Linked DNA regions of Homo sapiens: region 2 is linked to region 1. The links are contacts of gene promoters, found by promoter capture Hi-C in human tissues and cell types (Jung and others, 2019). All regions are on one chromosome and are shown on one strand. Each heading gives the region's core, a stretch centred on a gene start or on the middle of the fragment in contact. The rest is flanking DNA. Distances are from core to core; before and after follow the strand shown. Region 1 overlaps LINC02965 (long intergenic non-protein coding RNA 2965). Region 2 holds the start of ZNF181 (zinc finger protein 181).

Region 1 (3,264 bases), core at 765-3,264:
AAAGTTCATATGGTTTCTCAGAAAACTACACATATATCTAGTCTGACTGAGCAATTTCATTCCTAAGTATTAACCCAAGAGAAATAAAAACACATGGACACAGAATCACTTGCACCAGAAAAGTTCACAGCAGCCTTATTCATAATATGTAAAACCTGGAAGTACCTCAGATGTCTATTTATATAGAAAGCAAAAACAAACCATGGTGCATTCATACTCAGATATCAAAGTGAATGAATTCCTGATAACAGGCAACATGGATGGATCACAGAAACATGATGCTGAATGAAAGACTCCTTAAGGCTTAAGAACAGTGCATAATGTATGCTCCCATTTATATGAAATTATAGAGCAGCCCAAACCTGTAATGAAAACAATTCCTGCAGCATTGAAGAGAGGGATGCCTTCATTCATTTTTGTGTTGCTATAAAAAGAATACCTGAGGCTGGGTAATTTATAAAGAAAAGAGGTTTCTTTGGCTCACAGTCCTGCAGGCTGTATAAGAAGGATGATGCCAGGATCTGCTTCTGGTGAGGGCCTTAGGCTGGCAAAGAGGAGCTGGCATGTGCAAAGATCACTAGGCAAGAGAAGAAGCGAGAGAGGAGGGGAGGAAGGTGCCAGGCTGTTTTTAACAATCAGCTCTTGCAGGGCTTAATAGAGTGAGAACTCACTCATCACTGTGAGGAAAGCTCCAAGACATCATGGGGGCTCCAACCCCATGACCCAAACACTTACCATCAGGCTCCACCTCTAACGCTGGGGATCACATTGCAACATGAGATTTGGAGGGGTCAAACAAACCAAACTATAGCATGGGGGAGTCAGATGTGGGGGGTCGGGGCAGCCCCTCCCATAAGTGATCTCACAGGGCGAAGATCTGAGCTGTTGTCTCCCTGTGCTGACCAATCTGCTCTGGAGAAAGGGGATCTGACTGATCTGACGGGGTCAGGGTCCCAGTGTTCCACACATAGGTCCCAGGAGTTGGAGTTTCATTGCACATGAACTTCTCATCAGGGTATGTTGCAACAGATGCTCGGACAAGGTCCGCATGTCAGCAAGCCTTCTCTGCATCTAAGCTTACTTGCTGCTTTGTCTTTCTTCCTGCCTTACCCCCTGCCCAGCACCCCCACTGCTTGCCTTCCTATTATCCACCATACCCCTTCCTTAGCATTAATCTTTTCTAAATGAATTGTCTAAAATATATTACAAACTACCATAGCAGTTATGAACAAAAGTTTTGGAGATGGAGAGTGGCAATAATTGTACATCAATATAAATGTACTTATTGCCAGTGAATTGTGCATTTAAAAATTGTTAAAATGGTAAATTTTATGTTGTTTATACACAATATAAAACCATTACGCTACGTAAGTGAGCCCAGCCACAAAGAACCACATAGTCTATCTCTGCCCTAATTATCGTCAATTTCATATCGTCAACTGCAATAGCAGTTGCCTATAAAACAATCAACGACGTTAGCATGACGTTGTGACTGCCTTTGCATCAAATGTTTTTTTTCGGATAAACCTTTTGGAGGTAAAATTTACATGAAAAATGCACCTGTTTTATGTTCGCTAAGTTTTAACAAATGTGTACACTCAAGGCCCCACCACAATTCAGGTACAGATCATTTCCATCATCCTAAAAAATCCCCTTATGCTCCTTTGTTGTTAGTTCCTCCGCATATCTAACCACAAACAACCATTTATCCGCTTTCTGACATTTCATATTAATCTTGCTATTTCTAAAATTTGTTATACACAGAATCAGAGTATGCAGTTTTGGGTGTGGGTATTTGATAAGCATAATGGTTTTGAGATGTGTCTGTGTTGTTGAATAAATGTCAGGTTCATTCTACTCTATTTCCCAGTAGTACCCCATGTTCATAGTGGAATCATCCACAATAGCCAAAAGCTGGAAGCAACCCAGGTATCCAGCAATGTAGGAATGGGGAAACAAAACATACAATGGCATATTATTCAGCCTCAAAAGGAAGGAAATTCTAATACATGCTACAATATGGATAAAACCTGAAAAAAAACTATGCCAGGTAAAACAACCTGGACATAGAAGGACAAAGGTGTCATTCTACTTATATGATATACCTGGAATAGGCAAATTCATAGAGACAGAATAGTGGTTACCAGAGCTGTGGGGAATGTGTGCTGGGGAGTTATTGTTTAATAGGTACAGAGTTTCAATTTAGGATGATGAAAAAGTTCTGGAGATGAATAGTGGCGATGGTTATACAACAATATAAATGTACTAAATGCCAGTGAATTGTACATTTAGAAATTGTTAAAATGGTAAATTTTGTGTTATGTATATGCCATATAAAACTATTATAATACATGAATGAATCCAGCCAGAAAGAACCACATAGTCTATGGTTTCATACAGGAAATGTCCAGAGTAGGTAAACTCAAAGAGAGAAAGTCGATTAATGCTTGCCTAGAACTGGGAGGTGTGGGGGTATTAGAAGGTGATGGCTAAGGTGTACAAAGATTCTTTTTGGGGTGATGAATACTTTACAAAATTGTGTTGATGGTTGCACATTTCTGTGAATAGACTAATAGCCATTGAATTCTATACTTCAAATACATGGATTGTATTTTACATGAATTGTCTCTCAAAAAAGCTATTAGAAAAGAATCAGCCGATACAATTCATCTCAATAGTTGTGAACAAACTAATCGAAAAAAGCTAATATTCCTTTCAAAAAAAATCTTTCAGTAAAGTAGGAAGTGGACGGAATTTCCTTATTTCTTTTATGTGATAATGCATGCATTGAACGAAAAAAAACTTCAGTTAACAGCATACTGAATATTTTCCCCCCAAGATCAGGAAGTAGAAAATGAAGTCCATTGACTTCTCTTGGATTCAATGTTGTATTGGAGGTTGCAGCAAATGTGGAGGATAAGAAAAATTAAAATCATACAGATTTAAAAGGAAAGGGTAAACTACTCAATGCACAGAAATCCTGATTGTGTATGCAGAAAATCCTATAATCCATCTATAAAAAATTATAAAAAGTAAGGTATGAATTTTGCAAGGTGCTAGTATACAAGATCAATATATATAAAACAATTATTTTTCTGTAAACTGCCGTATACTAATACACGTACAAATGTGTGTGTGTGTGTGTGTGTGTGTGTGTGTGTGTGTGTGTGTATCAGCTGGTGGAGTGAAGAATTAATATTGGTAAGTTGTCCGTTTCAGCCAGAATCCAGAAAGCTGGTCTAGGGCAGCAGTCCCCAACCTTTT
Region 2 (3,264 bases), core at 342-2,841, 110 kb after region 1:
GCAAGTTTGTGCGTATGTGGGGGAAGAATATTCCACGTCGATGGCACAGCAACTAGTGACAGTGGCTAGAGCTCACAGGAATGAGGAGGCAGAGAAGGAAGGTGGGATCAGAAAGGTAATGGCCTAATTGTACAAATAGGTCATTGCAGAAGTGACTCAGTTAGAGCCACTGAAAAATTATAGGTTGAGGAATGACAGGAATTTATGTAACAATAGGACCACGGTCACAGCTGTACTGAGAACAGACTGATGAGGGTTAAGGGCAGATGCAGGGAATCCAGCTAGGAGGCTACCGCAATAATCCAGGTGGCTTTATTGCTATCACTACCGGGGTGGTAGTGGTGGTGGTAGTGCTGGGGTAACTAATGGTCAGATTCTGTATACAGTGTATAGCTTAGCTCCAACTAGAGGATCTGAATATAGGTATAAGTCAAAGGGAAGAATCAAGGATGACTGCAAGCATCTCTTCACTTGAGACCACATGGTACAGTTTTGACAACCATAAACCGAATAACCTTACATTCCAAAGTTGCATTGTGAATTACAGTTTTAAAATGTTGGCAAGACTAGAAAGTCTTCTAGCAGAAAACTGTAGAAAAGAGGAACACTGGGTGAGGAGGATAATACCTTGGAGCTCTCCTGTGGGCTCCGTCCTTCCTATACTGAAAGGAACCATGGATCCAGTCCCTTAAATGGACTTGGTTAGGTGGGAACAGGCAGGAGAAGCAAAGCAAACACACAGTCCTGATAAAGTGTTTCAGGAAGATTTGCGGACACACCGACCTACCTGAGGCATTACTCTGCAATTTCCAACAGCCAACAGAGTCCTCTTTCCAGGCTCTTATCTTAGAGATGGGCAGTGTCCTGAGGGCACAGAAGGGCAGGAAAAAGCAGTCATGAAAAATCAGGCTTATCTTGCGGCACCTGTGACACACCATAATGGAAAGGCACACTGGTAATCACTCTCCAGGGCGCCAATCTCTCCCTGGGAACTAACAGGGTGTTTCTCCGCAAGGGCTAACCATTTACCAGGTGCCACCTGCGAGGAAAATCAATTACTCTGTAAATAAAATCCTCATAAAACAATGGTAAAAACTTTATCAGCTCGTTCAGTCTTCACCACTATGCACGGTGTGCGTTCACATTTTTCCAGATCTATTTTTTAAACGATGACAAAACTGAAATTCCAAGATACTGAACCCATTTGTTCAAGGTTACACAACTGTAGAGCGCCGGCTTCATGACGACATAACCCAAAGACAACTGTGGCTGGCGTCTAACCACGCGCCCACTTCACTCTCACAACAGCGCCAAGAGGTCGGCGCCGTCATCACCCCGCGTTTACATAGGAGGACATGAAGGCCAGGAAAACCAAGGCACCGGCCGGGGTCACACCGCGGGGCAGACCCAGGGCCTGAGCCCCGCCGCCGCCCCCGGGACTCATACTGGCCGGAGTCCTCAGCAGGGCCTCACCGTCCCCGCAGGCGCCCCGCGTCGCTGGTGAGCGGGCAACGGCCGCCGACCTCTGGGGACGACACTGCCCAGAATCGTCCCGGAGCCTGGGAGTCGCCGTCAGGCCTGAGGCTACAGCGGGGCGGACCCAGTGCGCCGCCCACAGCCGATCGACATTTCCCAGAATCATCCGCGCAGGGGACAAAATTCCAGGCGCAACGAACCGCAGGTACCGGAAGACCACACTTCCCAGGAGTCTCTGCGGCCGCGCGGACCTGGGGCGCCGCGGGCAAACAGATCTCGGTTTCCTAAAAAACTAAACCGCCTGGGGCTGTCGTCCCAGAGCCCGGCAGTTAGGACCATGCGGGAAGTGTCCTGGGGCATATAGTCATACTGATGAGGTGAAAGATACACCTCGGAACCAAGGGCCACCCTCTACTTTTAAGGACAATGGCGCCGGGACCAAGAAACTACACTTCCCAGAAAACCGTGCGGCCGTGGCAAACTCTTCTGGGTCTAGCGTGCGCTCACACTAATGTTTATCTCCCGGGACGTGGGCAGACCTTGTACCAGGCGAGCTCTCGCCTTTGCTAGCAAAAGAGCTCCTCTCTTCCCAAACCCTGCTACTACGCTGTCCACCCTGTATGGTCTTTGAGGTCTTTGAGGTTTTTTTGGAATTCACTTGCTGGAGACTACAGCTCACAGAACGCCCTGGGCTGGATTGTGCCAGCTGTAGTTCGCGAACCAAGGACATTTCCTGGAAATGCATGCGGCCACGTATCTGTGACAGAAATGGCAGTTCTCACGTGCGTTACGCCCCCTGGAAGGACTTGGAAATACGGAACTTGAGTGAGCACTGAGAGGACACAGACCCTCATCCTGGGAGGAGTCACTCCTCCCGCAGCCATCAGAGCCTGACAACCGCTTCTCACCAGAGGCGCTTCTTAGACCCTGACCTTGCCCGGCTCACCCAAAGGGGCAATGGCCTTCTTTGTATGCAAGCCAGACAGTCTACTGTTGTATATTTGAATTTTTTACTTTATTTTTAATATTTTAATTAAATTTTAATTTAATGCTGCCTCTACCTCTGAGAGAGACAGGGAGAGATGGGGGAGGCCTGGAGTGGGGGCCCTGCGGGGCAGGGACAGGGGACCCTTCCTCACTTTGCACAATCTGGGAACCCTCCCCAAGCGGAACAGCCAGCTGCAGTGGAAAAGCACTGGCTTAGTGGGCTTCGTCCTGGGGACGAAGGCTGGGAGACTGCAGCTGAAAGGTGTGGGCTCCAGGAGGGCCGCAGGGGGCCTAGCAGCAGCGTCAGGGAGCAGAAGTCCGCCCTCCCTCCATCTTCCTTCCTTCTCTGGCCGCCAGAGCGCTCTGTCTCCCTCCCACGCCCACAGCTACAGGTGGAGCCGGCTTGGGGCGGGGGGGGGGTCCTCCTAGGGCGAAGAGGGCCAGGAGCCTTCCTGAGGACCTGAGGCTCCTCTGGGCCTCCCAGGGCTGGGCCTGTGATCTGATCTGCTTTGCCCTGGGAGGGACGTGCTCAGTGGTGGGGTTTGTGTAGCTGTCACTCATTCACCTGCCTGTGCTCAGCCACTCACCTGCTACTCCCATTGGCACCCACCCAGTACACATGTGGGTCGTCAGCTGCCATCAGGAGTAGTTCCTGCCTGTGTCACACACACCCATCCCACCCACCACACTGCAGGTTACAGGATTGCCCCACAAGCGCCACCATGCCTGCCTGAGGTTACCTGGCACACAAGTATCCTCACCTGCATGACATGACCAGATCGTGCACTTTCTATGCCAGGA

What was found. Contacts are between HindIII fragments. The study calls those that stand out against the background at their distance.
Region 2: the fragment with the promoter of ZNF181 here is called in contact with a fragment that was not itself captured in region 1 in 2 of the 25 tissues and cell types used here (mesendoderm cells and thymus).

The regions. Positions count from the first base shown.
Region 1 is chr19:34,842,221-34,845,484 of GRCh38, reverse strand. The region is part of intron 3 of LINC02965 (long intergenic non-protein coding RNA 2965); the gene reads right to left. Among named protein-coding and RNA genes, the nearest start is that of LINC02965, 5.1 kb to the right of the region's middle. The HindIII fragment of the contact is 8,258 bases long and covers 1-3,264 here.
Region 2 is chr19:34,732,570-34,735,833 of GRCh38, reverse strand. ZNF181 (zinc finger protein 181) reads right to left here and starts at 1,591. Exons shown (of 4, transcript NM_001029997.4): 1 at 788-1,591. The coding sequence starts at 796. RefSeq lists silencers at 1,349-1,408, 1,509-1,558 and enhancers at 1,839-2,228, 1,949-2,466, 2,684-2,743. The HindIII fragment of the contact is 5,149 bases long and covers 1-3,264 here.